Regions from separate parts of the Homo sapiens genome. Here regions 2, 3, 4, 5 and 6 are each linked to region 1. The links are contacts of gene promoters, found by promoter capture Hi-C in blood cells and fetal thymus (Javierre and others, 2016). All regions are on one chromosome and are shown on one strand. The core of a region is centred on a gene start or on the middle of the fragment in contact, and the rest is flanking DNA. Distances in the headings are between cores, read along the strand shown.

Evidence for each region. Contacts are between HindIII fragments. The CHiCAGO score rates a contact against its expected background, and 5 or more counts as called.
Region 2: a fragment that was not itself captured here is called in contact with the fragment with the promoter of RHOD in region 1 in 1 of 17 cell types (M2 macrophages); the score reaches 8.2 in M2 macrophages.
Region 3: a contact is called between the fragment with the promoter of GRK2 here and the fragment with the promoter of RHOD in region 1, in 2 of 17 cell types (M2 macrophages and endothelial precursors). The highest score is 6.9, in M2 macrophages.
Region 4: a fragment that was not itself captured here is called in contact with the fragment with the promoter of RHOD in region 1 in 1 of 17 cell types (M2 macrophages); the score reaches 5.4 in M2 macrophages.
Region 5: a contact is called between the fragment with the promoter of ANKRD13D here and the fragment with the promoter of RHOD in region 1, in 11 of 17 cell types (M0 macrophages, endothelial precursors, fetal thymus and 8 more). The highest score is 13.8, in M0 macrophages.
Region 6: a fragment that was not itself captured here is called in contact with the fragment with the promoter of RHOD in region 1 in 1 of 17 cell types (endothelial precursors); the score reaches 6.0 in endothelial precursors.

What each region holds. Positions count from the first base shown.
Region 1 is chr11:67,054,983-67,058,724 of GRCh38, forward strand. It overlaps RHOD (ras homolog family member D), which reads left to right and starts at 1,865. Exons shown (of 5, transcript NM_014578.4): 1 at 1,865-2,052. The coding sequence starts at 1,921. RefSeq lists silencers at 1,764-1,923, 1,934-2,003. The HindIII fragment of the contact is 21,888 bases long and covers 769-3,742 here.
Region 2 is chr11:67,214,551-67,218,653 of GRCh38, forward strand. It overlaps KDM2A (lysine demethylase 2A), which reads left to right. Exons shown (of 21, transcript NM_012308.3): 7 at 790-896; 8 at 1,306-1,399; 9 at 3,181-3,334. Among named protein-coding and RNA genes, the nearest start is that of GRK2, 50 kb to the right of the region's middle. The HindIII fragment of the contact is 5,186 bases long and covers 1-3,891 here.
Region 3 is chr11:67,264,119-67,267,795 of GRCh38, forward strand. It overlaps GRK2 (G protein-coupled receptor kinase 2), which reads left to right and starts at 2,355. Exons shown (of 21, transcript NM_001619.5): 1 at 2,355-2,694. The coding sequence starts at 2,582. RefSeq lists a silencer at 2,144-2,343. The HindIII fragment of the contact is 15,021 bases long and covers 1-3,677 here.
Region 4 is chr11:67,230,319-67,234,332 of GRCh38, forward strand. KDM2A (lysine demethylase 2A) reads left to right here. Exons shown (of 21, transcript NM_012308.3): 12 at 1,248-1,642. Among named protein-coding and RNA genes, the nearest start is that of GRK2, 34 kb to the right of the region's middle. The HindIII fragment of the contact is 2,928 bases long and covers 925-3,852 here.
Region 5 is chr11:67,287,725-67,291,375 of GRCh38, forward strand. It overlaps ANKRD13D (ankyrin repeat domain 13D), which reads left to right and starts at 1,579. Exons shown (of 15, transcript NM_207354.3): 1 at 1,579-1,826; 2 at 2,354-2,489; 3 at 2,598-2,722. The coding sequence starts at 1,737. RefSeq lists enhancers at 485-694, 1,929-2,853, 2,854-3,651 and silencers at 915-984, 1,165-1,934. The HindIII fragment of the contact is 22,420 bases long and covers 1-3,651 here.
Region 6 is chr11:67,247,978-67,252,112 of GRCh38, forward strand. It overlaps KDM2A (lysine demethylase 2A), which reads left to right. Exons shown (of 21, transcript NM_012308.3): 16 at 304-393; 17 at 2,109-2,821. Among named protein-coding and RNA genes, the nearest start is that of GRK2, 16 kb to the right of the region's middle. The HindIII fragment of the contact is 3,131 bases long and covers 260-3,390 here.

The DNA of each region.
Region 1 (3,742 bases), core at 615-3,114:
CCAAATTCTAGTTCAGCCTCTTACTAGCTGTGGATGTTAGTCAACAACTTAGCCTCTCTGGGCCTCAGGCTCCTCATCTGTGAAATGGAGCTAAGAGTCCCTACCTCCTAGGGAACAGTGCCTACACGTGGCTTGCAATCCACTAATGGGTGTTGTTATTATTAGGAAATGTTCAGTGAAACTGTATAGCATGACAAACATCAAGTGTGTCATTACAGAGATTATCCCTATAGCAACCAAGGCCAAACGCCTCTGCCTGACTCTCAGCTCCCTCCACCCCCAGTCTGGCCCCACCTGCCTTCCAGCCTTGCCACCCAAGGCCTGACGACAGCAGCAGTTGGGAGGAAGATGCTGACAGCTGATCCGAGGGGGTGGGGCCCCTCTCACCACTCCTTGGGGCGGGGAGCCCTGCTCTGGAGCTACCTGCCCAGCCCAGTGTCAAGTCACTGCCGAGCCCTGTGGCAGTTTCGGGGAGGAAGGGGCACCTGGAAAGGCAGAGCTGTGCTGGGGAGGATCCTTCCCTCCAAGTGGGGCTCCATCCAGCCTGCAGACCACAGCCCGGAGCGGGAGCCGGGCAGAGGAGTCAAGGAGCTGGGCTCTGCCTCTCCACCTAGTGACTCCTGCCCTGGCTGCCTCTTTAGACCACAGTGAGTTTAAAGGAGGTTGAAGGTGCTTTTTCACCTGCCTGACTTGGAACTCCATGAGGGGGGATGTCATGACCAGCATAAATTAGGGGGAACCTAATGACGTCTGCCCCTTGTTCTTTTAAGCTTCAATAGAAACACTCAGTCCAAGATCTGGGAAGACCCTTGTGCCCATTTTTAAAAGATTTCAACTCTGGCCATTAGGAGAAGTGGAGAGATCAGGTGACAATGAGTTCCCAGTTCAATGCTGGATTTACTGCTGGCATCCAACGTGCTCCACTGAGCAAGCACCAGCTCCTCATGCTGCACCACTGTGCAAGCGAGCCTCACCCTCTGCGGGGGCGGGGTGGGGGGGCAGCATTCCGCTCCGGCCTCCGCAGCTTCGCACGTGCCGCTGTCTCCGGTGGAACACCTTTTCCCTCCCCCATCTGACTGTGTTTCACTTTTTCCTCAAGACTCTGAAAGGTTTCCTGACTCCCTCAACGTGGGCGAGGAGCTCTTTTCCCCTACTCCCGTCCCGCTGCCTGTCCCTACTCCCGTTGTAGTTCTGATCACACTGATGTCCTGCGTGTCTACCATTCTAAGCCGTGGGCTTCTCAAGGCAGGGCCTGGATTTTGTCTTAAACAGTTCAGGGTCCCCGGGCCCTTGGGCACCAGGGGGACATCTCATGGTGCAATAATAAGAAACACTCACACTTTACAGAGGGAAGGTTCTATCGCTTTCCCTAGATCGTGGCCAGCCACGGTGTCAGGTGGCTGCCCACCTGCAGCAGAGCTTCCTGGTGCTGCGGGAGGGGGCAGGCCAGGCCTGGTGGGGCCAGTGAAGGGGGTCATCCCCTTCCCACCTGGCATGAAACGCCTGTGTTGTGCTGCGTCCTGAGACCCCTGGGGAAATGCACCATTCATTCATTCATTCATTCATTCACTAAAGGTCACTGGCTCCTGCCTGGGATCTGGGACCCAGCCCCTGAGCACACCCCCGCCCCCACTGTCATGGTCCCGCTGTTTGTCTTCTCCCTTCCGACCTCCCGTGGCCCCAGCGCGGCCAGCTCACAGTAGGTGCTCGGGCAGCGTTTCTTCAGGGACCTAGACGGCCTGGAGAGGAAGGGCCCCAGCCCAGCCGCCCGGGCCTCTCACCTGGCTCTCGGGGCGCCCGGCTCGCACTTCCTCCCGCCGCCCCGCCCCTTCCACATTCCTGCCCCGCCGGGCCTGCCCCGCGCAGTCTGGGTCTCTGCGCCGCAGCCGCCCGCCCGCCCGCTCAGCGCCCGGCCCCGGGATGACGGCGGCCCAGGCCGCGGGTGAGGAGGCGCCACCAGGCGTGCGGTCCGTCAAGGTGGTCCTGGTGGGCGACGGCGGCTGCGGGAAGACGTCGCTGCTGATGGTCTTCGCCGATGGGGCCTTCCCCGAGGTGAGTGCCCCGCGCCTCCGCCTCGCCCGGTTCCGCTCGCGCGCCCGGGTGTACAGGTCCGTGCCGGAGCGGCCCAGGCTGTGCGCCTAACCCGGCCTCCGAGGGGTGTCCCAGCGGGGCCTGGGGTCCAGGGCAGAGTTCTTCCGCCCCAGCCATTGGGAATGAAGGCCTCAGTGATGTTATCTGTAAAGCCGGAGGAATGGCATCCACCGGGGAGAGGTGTCACAAGGACTGAGTGAGGCGACCTGGGTGCACACAAGATCCTAAGACAGCACTTGGCCACACAATTCCGCTGAGGGCCTGAGAGCTTGGAAGCCAGACTGCCGAGGTTCAAATTATGGCTTTGCCTCTTATAGCTGTGTGCCCTTGGGTAAGTCCCCTAACCCTGCTGTGCCTGTGTCCCTCACTACATCACAGGTGAGTGACAGTGCCCACCACACAGGGTCACTGTGACAGAGAGTTAATAGACCTCAAGCACTCAGCCCCGGCCTGTGCACAGGAAGGACTCACGGAGAGTTGGCACATGTCGCTCCTGGGAAACATTGTCTCCCTTCCAGCTCTTGCCGCTGGAAAGCACATGCCATGGGCTCTGCCTTGGAGGGTGGGAGCACGCCAGCTGTAGCCTCAGCTGCTGGGCCCGCGTCTCTGCTCTCCTCTGAGCCCCGTGCCCTTTTGTAACCTGCTTAGCTTCTCTGAGCCTCAGTTTCCTCACAACAACCCCATGGGGTAGAGGGACTGTAGGGCAGTGGTGAAGTGGAGCCCAGGGGAGGCTGACAGGCAGCTCCCGTGCGGTAGCTGGCATGTCCTTGGCGCTGTAGGCATGCCCACCGTTAATCCTTCCTGACATGCTCACTGACTGCCCAGGCAGACTCCACGGGCACCAGGCGGCCCCTGCTCTGCCGCCTCTCAGCCCTGTTGTCCTGGGAGTCCATGGAGTTGCTTCCAGCATCTCTTCTTTTTTTTTATTTTTATTTTTTTTGAGAAGAGTCTCACTCTGTCACCCAGGCTGGAGTGATATTGGCACAATCTCAGCTCACTGCAACCTCCGCCTCCTGGGTTCAAGCGATTCTCTTGCCTCAGCCTCCTAAGTAGCTGGGATTACAGGCGCCCACCACCACGCCTAGCTAATTTTTAAAATTATTTTATTTTATTTTATTTTTGAGACGGAGTCTCGCTCTGTCGCCAGGTTAGAGTGCAGTGGCACAATCTCGGCTCACTGTAACCTCTGCCTCCCAGGTTCAAGCGATTCTCCCGCCTCAGCCTCCCGAGTAGCTGGGACTACAGGCGCGTGCCACCGTGCCCAGCTAATTTTTGTATATTTTTAGTAGAGACAGGGTTTCGCCATGTTGGCCAGAATGGTCTCGATCATTTGACCTGGTGATCCGCCCACCTTGGCCTCCCAAAATGCTGGGATTACAGGTGTGAGCCACCACACCCAGCCAATTTTTTTATTTTTAGTAGAGATGGAGTTTTGCCATGTTGGTCAGGCTGGTCTCGAACTCCTGGCCTCAAGCGATCTGCCCGCCTCGGCCTCCCAAAGTGCTAGGATTACTGGCCTGAGCCACCGCAACTGGCATTCTTCCTCCTTTTCTTCCCAGCATCCTCTAAGCCCCTGGGGTTGTATAGGTGCTGGAGCATCTGAGCACAAGCAGGACGGTCGGGCCTACCCCAGTTCTTATCACACTGTAGT
Region 2 (4,103 bases), core at 49-2,548, 160 kb after region 1:
CTGGTCTTGAACTTCCGACCTCAGGTGATCCGCCTGCCTTGGCCTCCCAAAGTGTTGGGGATTACAGGTGTGAGCCACTGATCCCAACTATTTTTTTATTTTGAAGAGATGGGTTCTCACTGTGTTGCCCAGGCTGGTCTTAAACTCCTGGGTTCAAGTGATCTTCCCACCTTGGCCTTCCAAAGCTCTGGGATTGCAGGTGTGAGCCACTGTGCCTGGTCTATCTTAGTTTTATAGATGAGTTTGAGGGCCTTATATAGTCTTGAAAAGACATGATAGACCTGGAGCTTCTTATTCCTAAGCTGGTAGTTTCTATAGCACATTGTCAATGCAAGGCTATAAATCTATACTGGATTTTTTTCTTTTTTTTGGCCTAACTTTTGGCATCTTAACTGTTCTAACAATGGTATATATTTTGCTGAGTTTATAGATACCTTCCAGACAACACCTTTTATTGGATTAAAAAATAAAACAAATTATATAAGTATTGACATAGAAGAGAGTTCATAGTTATACACTATTGCATAATTAATGATTCCATTTTGACTAGTGCTGTCTTTACTATTATCATTTGATGGAATGATTAATCTTTATTCTCATATAACAATTATTTCTAGGATGGTTGCCTAGTAATCCTAAGATTCGCCAACAGATTTTTTTAATTTGCTTATAATTAAATTATAGTTTTTTGTTATGTATTTTAAGAAATTCTGCTTTTCTTGACTTTAAAATTATCTTTGACCCCAACCTTTCCCTTGGAGCCCAAGTGTTTCCTCCTTCTATTTAAAGGTGGATTTCATTGACTGGGTAGACAACATGTGGCCAAGGCACTTGAAGGAAAGCCAGACTGAATCAACAAATGCCATCTTGGAGATGCAGTACCCTAAAGTGCAGAAGTAAGTGATGCGCCCTGCATCTTCCTCCGTGTGCTGTGGGAGACCAAAGCAATAGCAAGGATTGGCTTCTCCCTTACGAGCTTTGCTCTGTGTCTTGAATGATTAAAAAGATGAATTATTTAAAGATGAGACTTTACAGTTCCACAAGGAAGAGTGTATGTGAGCATACCATAGCACACAACCACACAGTTAAAGGAAAAAAAACTTACATTTTAGTCAATACGGTAGAAAAAAAAAAAACCTTTTTCTGATAATGTGATGACTTGAAAATGCATTGCTTTTTCTCCTTCTGGAACTTAAGATTAAGTGGAAGATAAAGGGAGTATATAAGAGGAGAGTATGGCATTTTGGTGGGGCAGATGTACTTTTTTCCATCAGTACACTAATGCTGCTGCTTTTTTTGGGTCAGGTACTGTCTAATGAGTGTTCGAGGCTGCTATACTGACTTCCATGTGGACTTTGGTGGTACCTCTGTTTGGTATCACATCCATCAAGGGGGAAAGGTATGGTCATAGTTGTGATAGGGGTTGGAATCTGAAGTTGGTTGTATGACTTTGCTTCAGTTCATGTATACTTAATATACCCTGGAAATGAATCTGTTAGGGAATTGTCCCCATTCGTATCTGGAAAGAATTATAGATTAAGTTCACCTTCTTGGCTAGTGTTCAGTAGAAATTAGTATTCATCTAGTTCACTGTCATTACACCATTGGCACAGCACTTAGTAAATCTCAATAGTCCTGTTTCTAGATTCCTGAATCAGAGTTCTCCAAATGAAGCCAAAGAAGTGATTTTAGAAGGACAAGATAATTTCTGTACTTGGAAGTATAATAAATAGTGGAAGGGAACACGAATTTTGGATAGATTCACTGTGAAATCAGCAAATTAAGATCTAAACCAACTTTCCCTCTATGTAGCCATTGGTCTGAAATATGGCCAAAGGAAGCCTTTAAGTCCTTTTTGAGGATGTAAACAGGTTTTGAAGGATTATCTTTATTCATTCAGTTATATTCCAGCTTGTGAAAATGCTTCTGAATGCTATATGAGAATGGAAATCTAGAATTAATACCCGAGGTTTATAGTATTATACTCTTGTTACTCTTTTTTCTCTAACTTGCAGTGAATGCATTTGTAAGAGAAAAGTAGGAACTAGAATGAGAATAGATAATGCCTTGTTTAAAACATGAGGTCTTGGCCAGGCATGGTGGCTCACGCCTGTAATCCCAGCACTTTGGGAGGCCAAGGCGGGCGGATCAGCTGAGGTCAGGAGTTCAAGACCAGCCTGACCAACATGGAGAAAGTGCATCTCTACTAAAAATACAAAATTAGCTGGGTGTGGTGGTACATGCCTATAATCCCAGCTACTCGGGAGGCTGAGGCAGGAGAATCGCTTGAACCCACAAGGTGGAGGTTGCGGTGAGCTGAGATCGCGCCATTGCACTCTAGCCTGGGCAACAAGAGCAAAACTCTGTCTCAAAAAAGAAACAAACAACAACAACAAAAAAACATGAGGTCTTGTCCGGGCACAGTGGCTCACGCCTGTAATCCAACACTTTGGGAGGCCAAGGTGGGTGGATCATAAGGTCAGGAGATCGAGAACATCTTGGCCAACATGGTGAAACCCCGTCTCTACTAAAAATACAAAAATTAGCTGGGTGTGGTGGCGCACGCCTGTAGTCCCAGCAACTCTGGAGGCTGAGGCAGGAGAATCGCTTGAACCCAGGAGGTGGAGGTTACGGTGAGCCAAGATTGTGCCACTGCACTCCAGCCTGGACTACAAGAGTGAAACTCTGTCAAAAAAAAAAAAAAAAAAAAAAAGTCTTAATCAGAACAACTATGTCTCCAAATCCAAAAGTCATTTTGTTTGCTTCAGATCCCTTTAAGCCCTGTTGATCTTAGTTACTACCTTGGACAAAACAACCTGAGCCAGTCTCTTGAAGATACTGTGCCTAATTAACTGTACTACTTAGGACTCTGGAAGCCAGACAGAGTGTTTAAGGGACTGCCTAGGTAATGAGCTGAATGGTCCCTCTTCTCTCCGAGTCCTGGATGGTGTATAGTCAAACCCAAGGGAAGCCTTAATGCTGTTGGATCAAGTGAAGGATAAGAAAGATCTACTGCCTTGGACCTTCTAGGGTTTACCACATAGTCAAGTTCTATAGGCTGGGAAAATTGCTTGCCTTTCTTCTACCTGGTGGTCTTAATTTTGTACCTGTTTATCAGTTGAGGGAGACGACTGGGTCATGTCAATGGCTGTTAACAGACTAAAGTTTTTTAACTCACAGGTCTTCTGGCTCATCCCCCCTACAGCCCACAACCTGGAGCTGTACGAGAATTGGCTGCTGTCAGGGAAACAGGGAGACATCTTTCTGGGTGACCGGGTATCAGATTGTCAGCGCATTGAGCTCAAGCAGGGCTATACCTTCGTCATTCCCTCAGGTAAGCAAAATGGGAAGAGTGGGTTATTTAGCCATTTTTTTCCTTAATGAAAAAGAAATTGATGGATTACCACCAAGAATAGTTATGATGCTGGGCGTCTGCAGAAAACAACAGTGTTTCTTCCTGTCATTATGGAATAGATGCTGAGGTTTTGTTTGTTTTGTTTTCAGTTTGAAAAGGCAGTGGTTTTCCAATAAAGTATATGAGAATTGCCAGCAGAGGCTTTTCAGGTATACACGTTTGGGCTCTGCATTAGCCCTAGTAATTTAGAATCTCTATAGATAGGACCTGTTCTGCAGGTGATACACAATCTATGTTGAAGAACTGCCTACTATTCTAGGGAATGGCTGTGAAGGCTGGAGTGCTCAGTCAGGGATGTTTTTGATCAAGTCATTAAATCAAAGTAAGTGCTTATAAAGATCACAGATTTTGGAGTCACAGACCTCTATTAGGATTCTGACTATGCATTTACCTGCTAGATACTACGCTTAGAGCAAATATTTAAATCTGTGTCTCATTTTGTTATAAGGAATATAAATGAGAACACATGTAAACCAAGCTTATCCAACCTGCAGGCCACAGGCCTCATGCAGCCCAGGATGGCTTTGAATGTGGCCTAACACAAATTCATAAGCCTTCTTAAAACATTATGAGATTTTTTTTTTTGCAATTATTTAAGCTTGTCAGCTGTCATTAGTATTAGTATATTTTATTTTATTTATTTATTTATTTATTTTGAGATGGAGTCTTGCTCTGTAGCCTCAGGCTG
Region 3 (3,677 bases), core at 1,105-3,604, 210 kb after region 1:
CCCATGTGTTCCAAGAGCTCATTCACTCATTCATTCACTCATCAAACACTGATGCCTTTGAGTCGGGTCCTGTGGTGGGCACTGGGAGCAAAGGATGAACTAGGGGCACCAGTGACAGTGGGGGACAGTATGTCCTCTTTAAATATATATATCAGCATTTCCAACATCAGGATGCATTTTCCAATTGATGCTGACATGTAACGAGGCTTCACTCCCCACTGTCGAAACTTGCAACAATGCATCTTGCAACTGAAAATGGAAAACAGGGCCTAGAAGGTGGTAAGTGTAGAATTGGAGATGTACATAGTTGGGGTCAGGGAGTCAGGGAAGACTACCTGGAGGAGGTGAGTCTTAGCGGATGAGTAGGAGTTGTCCACGGAGGAAGGTACACAGAAGGGCTTCCAGGCCCAGGAAACAGCAGAGGCACAGAAGTGAGAATGGGTGGGTGAGTTGGTGGGGAAACTCCAGGTGCAGAGGATGGTAGCGAAACAAACTGGAGCATTCAAGGTCCAAGTCCTCCAAGATCTTGACTTGCAGATTAAGGAGTTTGTTCACCTAATCTGCTTTGGGCAGAGTGTGGTGAGTCCTAGAGACCCCTCTAGGTCTCTCACTCTCAGTAGCCCCAGAAGGCCTGGAGAGCTGCTTCTGGGTGCCAAGCAGGCAGTGACTCCATCAGATCTAGATTTGGGAAAAGCATCCCTGGTCAGGGCCTGCATCAGGGCAGTGGCTGGCCATGAGGACCCTGAGAAGTAGACAGATTCACGGAGATTCTCAGGAGGCCAGACAGGAGACTATGGTGACAAATTAGATTAGAGAAGGGGAGAGAATGAAGGAGCAGTTGGGGAAAAGAAAACTGAGGCTCTGACATGGGTATATGGGTGGCGAGTGACTCACCACCCACTGAGAGGAGAACCTCACAAGCTCTGACATGCTCTGGTTCCAGGTTCTGTTGGGGCTGATCCAAGATGGTAGCCTAGAGGTGCACAGAGATGGGGGCCTTGCTTTGCAAAAGGATGCTGGCTGCTGGCCCACAGCATGGTAATGAGATTTGAGCTTTATGTGCCCAGGGCTGGGAGGAGGGTCCTGTCACTTTGAAAGCAAAGAGAGGCTCTAGAGAGGGGCATGTTGAGATAGGAATGCTGCCTTGAGACACCTGGCTTTCCCCACTCTGGGTGGGCTCTCAGCAGGGTGGGTTTCCCCTGCCAGGCAGCACTGAAACCTCTGTGCGCTTCCGGGCTGGGAGAGTTTTTACCGTAACTACATGTGGAACCATCCTGAAGGAACATCTGGATGGGATGGGGTACAGGGAAGGGAGCTGCCAAGAGTGCTGGCCAGGGACCTGGGTCTATGAGCTGGTTGGGGGGTGGGGTTGGGTGCAGGGTACTTGATCCTGAGTGGGCCTTCTGCGGCCAGGATTGGTTCTAGAGTAGGAGGGGTGGGATCAGGGATGGGGGAAGCCTGTAACTGCGCTGCAGTTGTCAGGTCCCAGGTTCTGGGTGACCTACTAAGGATTCTGGGTCCAGTGTGGGTCCCAGGTTAGACGTCCTAGTCCTGAGTCCGTGTCCACAGTTCTGGGTGTTGAGTCTAGGACAGTGATCTGGAGTTGACAGTCCAATCTAGGTCTGAGTCCTGACCCCAAGTCTAGAGTTCAGGGTCATGGTAGTAGCCTAGGGTCAGAATCAAGGTTGGGGTCAGTAACCAGGATGGGATCGAGGTCATGGTCCAAAATCTGGATCTGGGGACCTGTTGGGGGTCTGAGGTGAGTGTCGCAGTCTGGGTATGGCGTTGGAGACCCAGGGCTGTGATCTGAGGTCATGGTTAGAGTCTGAGGTGGTGGGCCAAGGTTTGAGTCTGGGGTCCTGTTTGGAGTCTGGTGTCAGGTCGTGGACTGCGTCCAAGGTCAGGGAGTCCGGGGTTATAGCCAGGGTCTGAGATGAAAGTCCCAGGATGGTGTTCAGAGGTCTGAATCTGTGTCTTGGTGAGCGTCCAGGTTCCCTGTGATCACGTTTGGTGTCAGGGCTGCGGCCCGACTGGGGAGCCTGGGATCCAGAGATGTGACCCGAGGTTGTGGTCAGAGAATGGGTCTCGGGTCGTCTTCCGTGCCGGGTCCCTGTCGTGTTCCAGGCCCGGGTCTCCGTCCAGCATCGAGGGCCGAGGTCACGGCCAGGGTCTGAGCCCGCGGTCGCAGGTCTGGTTCGGGGTCAGATTCCGCGCGGCCTCCAGGGGGCGCCGTCGCCCGCCCGGCTCGGCCCCTCGCGGGCTCGCTGGCGTTGTGCGCGGCAGGCGGGGCCGGAGGCGGCGGCGGCTCCGGGGCGCGGGCGCGCGGGCGGCGGCGGCGGCGGCGCCCCGACTGCAGTCCCGGCGGGAGCGGAGCGCGAGCCGGGGCCGGGCCCGAGCCGGCGCCATGGGGCGGCGCCGCCTGTGAGCGGCGGCGAGCGGAGCCGCGGGCGCCGAGCAGGGCCAGGCGGGAGGCGTCGGCGCCCGAGGCCGAGCGAGCCGCGGCCGGGCCGGGCCGAGCGCCGAGCGAGCAGGAGCGGCGGCGGCGGCGGCGGCGGCGGGAGGAGGCAGCGCCGCCGCCAAGATGGCGGACCTGGAGGCGGTGCTGGCCGACGTGAGCTACCTGATGGCCATGGAGAAGAGCAAGGCCACGCCGGCCGCGCGCGCCAGCAAGAAGATCCTGCTGCCCGAGCCCAGGTGAGGAGAAGCTGCCCGCGGCCCCGGCCCGACCCCGCGGGCGCCCCGGCCGCGGCCCCGAGACCCTGGCCCCATGCTCGACCCCGCGACCTGGACCCCCGGGGCCGGCTCTCGCAACCCCCTGTCGGCCCCCCAGCCCGGAGCAGCCCGGCCTTGGCGCCTGCGGGTCCAGACCCTAAGCCCCAGACCCTGGGCGCCTGAGCCCGGAGCGCCCCAACTCCGGAGCTCCTCTGCCCCATCGGTCCCCGGACCCAGTCGGGTCCCCCTGGCCGCCCTGCTGCTTCCTTATCGTGCTCCACCGGCCCCCCGAAGTCGCTGTCAGCCCCTGGCTCCCGCCTTCTCCCACGGGGGCCCGGCGCGCCCCTTCATCCTTCTCGGAGCAGCCCTTGGTCCCTGTGGGGTCCCCTCCCCTCCGCTGGCCACCATTTACCTCGCCTGACGATGTCACCCACCCTTTTGCTGTCCCTGCTCACGGCACTCGCTTTAGGGTTTCCACTACCCCCACCCGTCTCTCCTCCAGTCTACACTTGTGTGAGGTGTTGGGGGACAGCCAGTCTTCCGGACTCTTCTCCCACCCTCTGGTGGGGTCGCTGTCCTGGAGTTGGGCTCGAGAGTGCTTTCAGGGCGGCGTGGTGAGCAGGACCTAGGGTGCTGCGGGCACCCTCCCCCTCGGACCGCGCTCAGGTCGGGGAAACATCCCCTGTGCCCTCTCCCCTACATTTCTCCTCTGGCAGGCCCTGCATATGGTGCCCCGTGGGTGCTGTTGACCAGGGGCCCTCCCAGCACACCTGCAATGGCTGGACCTTAGCTGCCGCCTCTGTAAGACAACTGACATCACACCTGGTATCAAAGTTTAGACTGTTCAGGATGTAGGTGCAAAAGTACACAGGATGTGGACGATTGCTGCGGTTTGTCCAGCATTTTATGGCTGATAGAGTATCTCTCCACTGTGTGAGCCTCTCAGCAGCGCATGGGGTGGCGAG
Region 4 (4,014 bases), core at 1,139-3,638, 180 kb after region 1:
CAAAAAGTAACCAACAAAACACATATAGACCAGGCATGGTGGCTCATGCCTGTGATCTCAGTACTTTAGGAAACCAAGGTGGAAGGCACACCTAAGTCCAAGAGGTTGAGACCAGCCTGGGCAACATGACCAGACCCTGTCTACAAAAATTTTTTAAATTAGCTGAGTGTTGGGGCACATGCCTCTGGTCCCAGCTGTTTGGGAGGCTATTGTGGGAGGATTGCTTGAGCCCAGGAGGTTGAGGCTGCAGTGAGCCATGATTGCATCACTGCACTCCAGCCTGGGCAAAAGAGTGAGAACCTGTCTCAAAACAAACAAACCACAACATAAAAAAAAAAAACCCACATAATAATCATACACATCTGTTAAAGCATGGAAAGAAAGTATATTGTACTGTTCAGTTGTTATCGTAGGATGGAGGGATAAGGGATGACTTATTTACCGCTTTGCGCCTTCTTGCATTTTCTAAATTATAAAAGAAAAGACTGGTGAACATTTATCACTGTGTTTTGACTATCAAAATCTTCCTTTTCAAAAATAGTCACTTTGTTTTGTTACTTATGTTGTTAGAATTTCAACTCCAAAGCTTGATTTTAAGACCAAAACTTCAGACAAAAAAAAAAAGTTTTTTGGTTTTTTTTTGTTTGTTTTTTTTTGAGACAGGGTCTCACTCTCTTGCCCAGGCTGGAGTGCAGTAATATGATCGCAGCTCACTGCAGCCTCAACCTCCCAGGCTCAAGCAGTCTTCCCACCTCACCCTCCCTAGTATCTGGGACCACAGTCATGCATCACTATACCCAGCTAATTTTTTTAATGTAGAGATGGGGTCTCACTATGTTGCCCAGGCTAAAACTATTTTTTAAACATACATGCTTCTTAGTGTCTTCTCTTTTAAAAGGTAATGAAATAATAATCCCAGATTCAAGCTTTAACTTGAAACTGACTTTACAACCACTTTGATAAGTAACTGATTTCTAGTACACAGTTCAAAGACTAGGTCCTACCCAAACTTTAAAAAATCCAATTGACTATTACCTAGGTGTCCTCCTAGGTCAGGATCCTGTTTCTACCTGTTAACTGTGATTTTGAACAGTGGACAAATGGGTTGGAATAAAGATAGACCATTTTTTTAAATGTGGTAATTTTGTCATTTATAGCCTCAAGGCCCCTATCATGCCACCTATTTCTCTTGCTGATCACATGGCAGAGTGAAATGTTCTTACTGCATTTTTTCTTCATATTGGTAGATTTGGAGTTAAATGGGTTGGAGTCTGGGAATGGGGATGAGGAAGCAGTGGATCGAGAACCCCGACGCTTGAGCAGCAGGCGTTCTGTCCTCACTAGCCCTGTAGCGAATGGAGTCAACCTGGATTATGATGGACTGGGCAAAACCTGCCGAAGTCTTCCAAGTCTGAAGAAAACTTTGGCTGGGGACTCATCTTCTGACTGTAGCCGGGGCTCCCACAATGGACAAGTGTGGGATCCCCAGTGTGCTCCCCGAAAGGACAGGCAAGTGCATCTGACCCATTTTGAGCTTGAAGGCCTTCGCTGCCTTGTAGATAAGTTGGAGTCTCTGCCACTGCACAAGAAATGTGTCCCCACAGGGATAGAAGATGAAGATGCTCTCATTGCTGATGTAAAGGTAAGGGTTTGATGTGTTACATGACAGCTACTGATCCAGCTATGGCAGTCAGCTTCCAGATTCAGAGGGAGAAAATATAGGAATTTTGGGTGATCTCTGGTTCAGTCAGAGAGAAGTTAATATGCATGTGTGTTTGTTATTGCTGCTCAGTGTTTTCATTACTAGAATGAGGTTATGTCCCTGTTTTGAAAATACTAACATTTATGTGTTCATTGAAGACTTATAAATTTAGTCTTAAACATAGGTTTCAGGCTGACCCCAAAAATAAAGTGACCCAAAGAAAATATTTATATAAGAAATGTTACATTAAACTTAAGTTACCTTGAGATAAAACTCAGGACAAAAGTGACTGATAGGAGTCTCATCCTAAGCAGATTGAGAGAAATGAAATTGTTCTATGCTGGGTTAACGTTGAGTAGCTTTAGCCTCTTTAGATTCAAATTTATCTAGCATCAAGACTTAAATACATTGGGAAAAGCATCATTTTAAAATAATTCATCCCATTGCTTTATCAAGTTTTATGTTTATTTATTTTTTAATTATACTTTAAGTTCTAGGGTACATGTGCACAACGTGCAGGTTTATTACATAGACATACATGTGCCATGTCAGTTTGCTGCACCCATTGACTCGTCATTTATGTTAGGTATTTCTCCTAATGCTATCCCTCCTCCAGCTCCCCTTCATATTGTATATTTTTCTTAAGGAATCCAGACTTGAGCTTTTTTTTTTTTTTTTAATTTTAATTAATTAATTAATTTATTTGAGACGGAGTCTCACTCTGTCGCTCAGGTTGGAGTGCAATGGCAAGATCTCGGCTCACTGCAACCTCCACCTCCCGGGTTCAAGCAGTTCTCGTGCCTCAGCCTCCTGAGTAGCTGAGATTACAGACACGTGCCACCATGCCTGGCTAATTTTTTTATATTTTTGATAGAGATGGGGTTTCACCATGTTGGCCAGGCTGGTCTCGAACTCTTGACCTCAGGTGATCTGCCTGCCTCAGCCTCCCAAAGTGCTGGGATTACGGGCATGAGCCTCCACACCCAACCTTGAGCTATCTAAACTGGAGGAAATTATTTTAAGTCTTTCCTCCTAAGTAACAATTAATGTGAAGACCAAGAATTGTAAAGCTGGAAATAGCAATTTTATTTTTAAATCAGTGTTTGGAACAATGGGTATGTATATTAGAAAGCTAATCTACAAGTTGTAATGTTATTTTGAAAACCTCACATAGATTATTTTAAGCTACTTTTAAGCCATTTTATAAATTTAGGGGGGCCAGGCACAGTGGCTCACACCTGTAATCCTAGCACTTTGAGAGGCCAAGGTGGGAGGATCACCTGAGGTCAGGAGTTCGAGACCAGCCTGGCCAACATGGTGAAACCCCATCTCTACTAAAAATACAAAAAAAGGCTCAGTGCGATGTCTCATGCCTGTAATCCCAGCACTTTGGGAGGCCGAGGCAGGTAGATCACGAGGTCAGGAGTTCAAGATCAGCCTGGCCAAGATGGTAAAACCCCGTCTCTACTAAAAATACAAAAATTAGCTGGGTGTGGTGGCAGACACCTGTAATCCCAGCTACTCAGGAGGCTGAGGCAGGAGAATCCCTTGAACCTGGGAGGCAAAGGTTGCAGTGAGCCGAGATTGCGCCATTGCACTCCAGCCTGGGTGATGGAAGTGAAACCCTGTCTCAACAACAACAACAACAAATCCATTGGAGTAGTTTAACTAAAGTAGCTAAATAAGGAGATTTGAGGTGAAAGGGTGGTACAATGGTATACCAAAGGAAAAAGTAGAAAGATTTGGGTTAAATATTAAGCAGAGTCAGCAAGAAGAGAGGGGAGTTAAGAAGAGACATCTAAAGAGGAGGCTTAGCATTATGAAAAGTGTCCGGAGATAGCTTGCTTGTGTTTATCAGGGACCACTGAAAAACGTGACTGCCATCACTGGCTAAGATATAGTGGCAGAGGCCAGAGCATGAGGAACAAGTAGCCAGTGAGATGACTACACAGGCCGACAGTGTTTGAATTCTCCCTCCAGAGACTTGTCCACAGCTTCTCGTTTACCCAAAACCACAGTCAAAATGTAGCTGACGTCAGAAGACAACAGATTTAGATTCCAGCTCTGCAGGTGTAGTTTCACTTAAGATCAAATAGATTAATTATTCCTATATTTGATCAGTTATGCTAAATCTCAGAAAAGATATAGCAAGCTTAGAGCTTGAATACCTTGAGAATCTAAGCATCACTCAAAAGAAAAAAGCATTAGATTGGGTAGCTGCTGAATCACTGCACAGCTGGGGACTTTCAAGTGCTAGAAAACTTGGTGCTTATAGCACTGATGGCTATACTTCAGTGGGGGACAAAGCTAGT
Region 5 (3,651 bases), core at 329-2,828, 230 kb after region 1:
CAGAAACAGGCTGGACTTGGGGCTGAGTGAGGCGGGAGTCTGGGGAAGAGGGTAGGTGTGGTTGGGTTGGCTTCGGACATACTGATGGGATAGCATGGGATCCCTGGGCACAGAGATGTCCTGGAGTAAGCTGAAATGTGGACCTGGGGGTGGCATCAGGGTGACAATGGGAACGGACAGTCTCTCTCCCAGGGATGTGGGGGTCAGGGAGAGAGAGGAGGCCGTGGAAGAGGGTTGAGAAGGCACTGTCATGGAATTAAGTGCCAGTGGGGAGCTGTGTTCAAGATGGCAGAAATCAGGAGAGGCTGGAACCAAGAAAGTCCTGTCGGGGTTGAGTTTGGAGAGGGCTCAGGGAAGGGACCGCCTCTGAGAAAAGGGGTGGCCAGGGAGGGCTGCAGTAGTGGTGAGCAGGTGAGCTCTGGGCATTCAGAAGCCTTCGGGCTGCTACCAACCCCAGGACCTCACAGATTGACACCATAGCGTGGGGTGGCAAAGTGACCCCAGATGGCACAGGCGCCATGTGACTACAGGGAGAAGGCAGGGTAAAAATGGCAATCAGGCCTTCCAGCCCAGAGTCTCAGAACTGAGGACGCCCTACAGCAGGAAGTGATGCTCAAGCTAGCTGGCCCTCCTCAATCATGTTCCACGTAGGGAAAGGGAGAATAGAGGGTCAGCCTTGGCCACCTAGCAAAACCAGGGCCCCAGACCCCAGGCTGGGCCTCCAGTAATCAAGGGCCGGAACTGAGCTGACGGAGGCCTGCACCCTAGTTCCGGTGTGGGTGGAGGGGCCGGCCCTGATTTCGAAACTCGCCTTCCTCTCCTGACGCTGGCAGCCAACCGCAGCCTCTGCAAAAGGGACTCGTGCGGCGGGCGAAGGCAGCCGTTCGCCGCGGGCGGTCCTCCGCCGGGACGGCTCTGCCGCTGCCTGGGCCTGCGCCCCTCTCTCCCCGAACTCCTATCCCTGACTTCAGGGCCCCGGGGGCCGCCTCCCCGCATCGCTGGGCCTGCAGACACCGGCCAGGTCCCAGGGGAAGGTGCTTCCCGCTCAGCCGGCAAGCACTTAGTGGCGTCTGCTCGTTGCTCGTCTCCAGGCCGGGTGAGGGGAGCCGGGGCGCCCCACTTCACCCGCACACCCCAGCAGAGTCGGTGACCGCGGGACCTGGGGTAGGAAGACCGGGGCGAGCAAGGGGATCCGCGGGGGAAACGCAGGCATCACGGCTGCAGCAGGACCGCGGCCCGCCGCGCACGCGCGTGCACTACCGAGGGGCCCAGTGCCCGCCCCCTCCGGCCCCGCCTTCCTCTTCCGGACCCGGCTCCGGGGGTCTGCGCAGGGCTCGGGGCGCCTCCTGCGGGCCGCGGGCGGAGCTGTAACCGGGCACCGCCCTCCAGGCCGCCCCAGCGGACCCGGGCCCGACCGAGGTCGGGGCGCAGACCCAAGGCCGGGCATCTCCTCGGGCGCTCGCGGTTGCTCTGCCGCGCGCTGGCCTGGCCGCGGTTGCCATGGTTGCGGGGGGACGGGGGCGCGCGCGAAGCCCCGCCCCGGCCCGGCGCAGCCCCGCCCGCTCCGCCGCCCGCCCCGCCCTCCCTGCCGCCCGCGCTGCCGCCGCCGCCGCCGCCGCCGCTACTGCTGCGGGGGCCGCGGGGGGCGCAGCTGGGGCGCGGCTCGGAGGGGAGGCTAGGGGGCCGTGCCAGGCCCGAAGCCGAGGCGGGGCCGGGATGCGGCGCTGAGGCCCAGCATGGCCGGCCCGGGCCCCACCTTCCCGCTGCACCGGCTCGTCTGGGCGAACCGGCATCGCGAACTGGAGGCCGCACTGCACAGCCACCAGGTGAGGCCCCGCTGGGGCACCCGGCCCTTCCCCCGGGTCCCCCACCCAAGGCTGTGGCCTCCGTCCTGGAGCCCCCCCCCCCCCCCCGCCCGCTCAGCTCCGCAGCCACATCCTGGGCCTTCCTCCCCTGCACGATCCCAAGCCCAGGTCACCGGCCCCTCGCGCCTGAGCCTCTGGCCTCCTCTCCCCTGCGCTGGGCCTTGCCCTGCTCGCCCGAACTCGCTTCCGCATCCTTGCTGACCCAAGCTGAGAACAAGAACTCTGGTCCTGGTCCCCAGGTTCCGCCAAACTCCTGACAACCTGCAGCTCTGCCTGACCAGGCCCCGCCGCCAGACCCCGGCTCTGCCCCTGCCTTCCCTCCTGCCCCCTCCTCTCCCCTGCCAGGACACGCAGGCCACCCTCTGCCATCTCCCTGGTCAGTCCGCCGTCCTTATTTCCCACAGCGATTCCCAACCCTGCTCGCCCTGGCAGCCTCCCTGCCTTGCCCTCTTCTCTCCTGCCCTTTGTGAGTGTCCCGTCTCCCCCAGCACGACATTGAACAGGAGGACCCCCGCGGGCGGACCCCACTGGAGCTGGCCGTGTCTCTGGGAAACCTGGAGTCTGTGAGAGTGCTCCTTCGACACAATGCCAACGTGGGCAAAGAGAACCGCCAGGGCTGGGCAGGTACTGCAGAGGACAAGGGGCTCCCCCTGAGGCTGGCAGGCGGGGGGCAGTGAGCAGCCAGGCCTGGGGTCATCTGGAGGGCTCCCCTCAGCAGCCTGGTGCCCGCAGTCCTGCAGGAGGCAGTCAGCACTGGAGACCCCGAGATGGTGCAGCTGGTGCTCCAGTATCGGGACTACCAGAGGGCCACGCAGAGGCTGGCGGGCATTCCGGAACTGCTCAACAAACTTCGCCAGGTACAGCAGGGCACAGTTATGGAGGTGGGGTACCATGGCAGGGCACCACCCTGGTTACTGTGCCAGGCCTGGCCTTGGAAAGGCACCCAGTTTGTGCAGTGTGCCTCCTGCCACCAGCAAGGAGGTCTGTCTATCTTGACCCCAGCCCAGGGTCACGTAGGAAAGAGAGACGGCCAGGCTCACGTGGGAGAGACTGGACCCTTTGGAAGAGAAGCCTTGCCAGCTTTGGGCCTCCTGAAGAATGCAGATTACCTGGAGCAGGGACTTCAGGTTGACTCGGTGGATTATGGCCTGAAACCCTGGAATACTTGCTACTACGCACCCTTCTGGAAGCACACGGAGGGGCCTGGCTGGCAGAGCATACTATCTCATACCCCCTACCCCAGGAGCAGGCTCGGAGGGAGCCACTGTGCCCCCTTTACAGAGTAGGACTCTGAGACCCAGTGGAAACAAAGGCTCCCCCAGGGCTCTGCACAGGCTCATGGCCAGGTTGAGGCTGGCCCTCCACCTCCAGGTGCTTACAGCCTCATTGTCTGAAGACCACTGTAGTGCCCCACTTGGCCCACCCTCTCCAGGGCAGAGTGGTTGGGCGTAGCTGAGCCATAGCAGTGCGTCAAGACTTGATGAAGGGCCAGGCGTTGTGGCTTACTCCTGTAATCCCAGCGCTTTCTGAGGCCAAAGTGGGCGGATCACTTGAGCCCAGGAGGTGGAGACCAGCCTGGGCAACATGGTGAAAGCCGTCTCTACAAAAAGTACAAAAATTAGCTGGGAGTGGTGGCACACACCTGTGGTCCCAGCTACTCGGGAGGCTGAGGTGGAAGAATCACCTGAGCCCAGGGAGGCAGAGGTTGCAGTGAGCCGAGATTGCACCACTACACTCCAGCCTGGGTGACAGAGCAAGTCTCAAAAAAAAAAAAAAAAAAAAAAAA
Region 6 (4,135 bases), core at 575-3,074, 190 kb after region 1:
TATCTCTGTGTATTAGTTCCTGAGGGAAAGTGAAGGTAATAATATCAGCCAACATTTTACAGTGGAGAACACTGAGTCACAGAGACTAGAGCATTAGTCCCTAAACCCAAGCTATCAGAACCTGTGCCGCACTGTCAAGATCAGGTTCAGCACCATTGGCTATTTGGGGCTGGATTGCTCACAGTTTTTCTCCCTTTATGGACCAATGTTGTTGAGAAATGAGTAACTCTTCCCAACTGTGTTATTGTTGGATAAAGGAAGCTTGAGAGACAGGCTTTTAAAAACATCTCTGTCTTCCTATAGATGGACGGAGAGGGGTTGCTTAACGAAGAATTGCCAAATTGCTGGGAATGTCCAAAGTGCTACCAGGAGGACAGCTCGGAGAAAGCCCAGGTAAAGGAACCTTATCAGATTTGCACTGTGACAGAAAGGAGGCATCAAATGTGGGGGATTGCTACACGTTTGCCTTTGCATTAGTGTTCACACAGTTTCTCTGACCTAGGAGATTATTTTTGTTTGGTTTGGTATGTTTTTCCTTTGGTTAATTTTTAGTATTTTCTTTGTTAGAGTTTGTAGCATTGTGTTTTGTATTACTAAATGTTGTTCCACTTGGGATCTGCAAATTCCTAAGGTCCTTTTATACTCTGGGGCCCTACAAAGAGAGGAACCACGGCTGGGCTATTTGAGGAGAGAAATTAGGTGAGTATGATCCCTCCTGAGGAATGTTAACTAGAGGAGAGGCAGTGGCCTGAGGCAGCCAGTGAGTGCAGCAGTGTACTTGAGCTTCCAGTTAAGCAGGTTCACATTTTTGTCATCTTCACTTTTGTGGCCTGGCAGAAAGCCCTGCCCTGCCCATCCCACATGCCCAAATGTGTCATGTGGAGGCAGCCCCTCCCCCAGAGAGGACCAGTGCTATGACCTTGGCCCAGAGGAGCTGAGGTTGCTGACCAGTGGTTGCCAATAATGTCAAAGGGCCAAAAGGACTGTACTTACTCAGGCTGACAAGGCAAGACCAGCTGTGGACACCTACAGGAGGAGATGGCTTTCCAAGTGCCAGTCTTTCAAGGACCCTTGCACGGGAGCAGGGAAGGGGGCAGAAAGGAATTTTCTTACTTTTTATTTCTTCCCACTTGGATACTAAGATAGTTGAATTTTTCAATCTATTTGTCTTTGAGGGCAAGGATTTTTGAAGTTGACTAGGGCCAAAGTTCTCCTTAGTTCTTGCACTAGTGACCTTTACATGTGTCTTCATTAGTGATGTTGAGTGTTTGCATCTCTGCTGTAGCAGATGTGTTGTTGGCAGATGGCTGTGTTTTAGTATTACCTTCTAATACATTGGAAAAGGTAGCACCCAAAAGGTGGTCATTTTCTTCCAACCATAATGATAAAAAAATGTAAGGAGGAAAAGGAGCAGAGAACAGGGTTGTTGCTTAGAGACATAAAATGTCTCCTTGCAAAAAACCTGAACTACTGATACGGTTCCTAGTGGAACATGTTTACTGGGCTTTGTCATAGCATAGTCATAGTGGGCTCCAGGAAAAGACAAGTATCTAGAGAGCACAAATGCCACAGATAAAGTTGGGGGCTCTTGTGGGATTCCTCACCATAATCCTGAGTGAATCTCTCTGTAGCAACCCAGTTTCTCAGAGAGGTTCTTGTTATCTGCTTTATTATTCACGTGGGGGTTGGAGTGGAAGACGCAGCCTGGTGGAGTCAAACTTAGACTGTGGTAGAGCTAGAAGCCAATGGTGTTTACCATTGTCAGACTCAGGATCTTAGTTCAAATGGTATATGTGGGCTTTTTCCACCATGAAACAGAAATACGTCTCTTGGGTGAAAGAGGTAAGTCAGAGACGCAATTAAAAATGGTCAGGCCAGGTGCAGTGGCTCACACCTATAATTCCAGCACTTTGGGAGGCCAAGGCAGGTGGATCACTTGAGCCCAGGAGTTGGAGACCAGCCTGGGCCGACTCTGAGGGAATGACCCCCTCTCCAACGTGACCTTTCTTCTCTCTGGTCCCCTGAGAGCAAGGGAGGTCCACCCTGTCGGTTCAGAGGGTTTGGAAGAAAGGAAGCACTGATGTTGCTTTTCTGGGCCTGTTTTGCAGAAGCGGAAAATGGAAGAGAGTGACGAAGAAGCTGTGCAAGCCAAAGTCCTGCGGCCCCTGCGGAGCTGCGATGAGCCTCTCACGCCCCCGCCTCATTCACCCACTTCCATGCTGCAGCTCATCCATGACCCGGTTTCCCCCCGGGGTATGGTGACTCGGTCATCCCCTGGGGCTGGCCCCAGCGACCACCACAGTGCCAGCCGCGATGAGCGCTTCAAACGGCGGCAGTTGCTGCGGCTGCAGGCCACAGAGCGCACCATGGTACGGGAAAAGGAGAACAATCCCAGCGGCAAAAAGGAGCTGTCTGAAGTTGAGAAAGCCAAGATCCGGGGATCGTACCTCACTGTCACGCTACAGAGGCCCACCAAAGAGCTCCACGGGACATCCATTGTGCCCAAGCTGCAGGCCATCACGGCCTCCTCTGCCAACCTTCGCCATTCCCCCCGTGTGCTAGTGCAGCACTGCCCAGCCCGAACCCCCCAGCGTGGGGATGAGGAGGGGCTGGGGGGAGAGGAGGAGGAAGAGGAGGAGGAGGAGGAGGAAGATGACAGTGCAGAGGAGGGGGGTGCAGCCAGGCTGAATGGCCGGGGCAGTTGGGCTCAGGATGGAGACGAAAGCTGGATGCAGCGGGAGGTCTGGATGTCTGTCTTCCGCTACCTCAGCCGCAGAGAACTTTGTGAATGTATGCGAGTGTGCAAGACGTGGTATAAATGGTGAGCAGGGATTCAGGGGGTCAGGAATTAGGGGTATGGGAGTAGGTGGCAGGTTTTCCATATGAGAACAGCATGCACCTTGGCATCTGAAAGCCTGTGGGGTCTTATGAGGAGTGAATTGACCCTTTTTCCCAAACTTTGGGTCCTGTTTAAAGATGTAGCCTGTTGTACCCGCAGATGTCATTAGGGAACTGGCCATTTGCCTCCTGGCCCTGCTCTATACTTTCCCATGTCTCATTGTTATGGGGAGGGAGACTGATTTGCGGGATAGATTTGTAGTCTGTGATAAAACTTGAGAGTCTTGCGGGCTGAAAATTTCCTCCTCAAGTCAGCTGAACTCATCACATGTTGGTTGAGAGCCTATGATGTTCTAGTCACTCTTCTGGTGCTGATAACACAGATAACCTCACTTAAGCCCCTGACTCAATTACCTCTCCATTCAGTGAGAGAAGTGGGCATGCTTTTCAAGATGAATTTGAAGGTGCTTAACATTTTTCTTCAGTTTTAATGCTCATCCCCCCAAACCTGGATCAGAATTCCCTCTTCCAGCAAGCAGAGTCCAGTTTTGAAGCTTCCTTAATGAGAGCTACCATTTCTTCTTAAGTTGGACAGACACTTGGGGGAAAAAATTGCTAGTGATGATGAACAAGGAGCTTCCCATTGGGCATTGTTGGTTTTTCCTTAAACTCTGGTATATATTTACTCTAGGATATATCCTTTTTATCTGGGTCACACACATCCTATTACAGTAGTGTGGTGTCCTGACCAATGGCATTCACTCAGGAACTTTTTAGAAATGTCAACTGTCAGGACCCTCATAGGCCTCTTAAATCAGAACCTCTTGGGTGGGCCCAGCAGTCTGCTTTAACAAGCGCTCCTCCAGGGGACTCTGATGCATGCTCGAGTTTAGAGCAGCAAAATCTGCTGTATTGTCAGCAGCTTGCTTCTGCCATAGAAGCTTCATGTGCCACTGGTAAAATTGTTTCAGTCTCTAAATAGACCCTATTCTTTGCAAACATGAGTTTATTTCCCAAATCTGAATTAATGTATAGTGTATCTAAATTCTCCTTAATATTTCTCTGTCTAGGGCTAATAGGACTGCTTGGCTCTACCTCTTGGTTTTCAGGGCAAGGCACATCAGATTCCCGTTATGTGCTGTCTCTCTTCCCCTGCCAACCAGGCTGGGGGGCAGGGGCTATAAAATATTAAATTGAAGCCAGCATGTTGTGGTTTGTGGCCTGTAGATTTGTAGACTGCAGTGGAAAGCCAGGCCTATCCCTTTCAGTTCTGGTCTGGCCTGGCTAGAAAATGTCA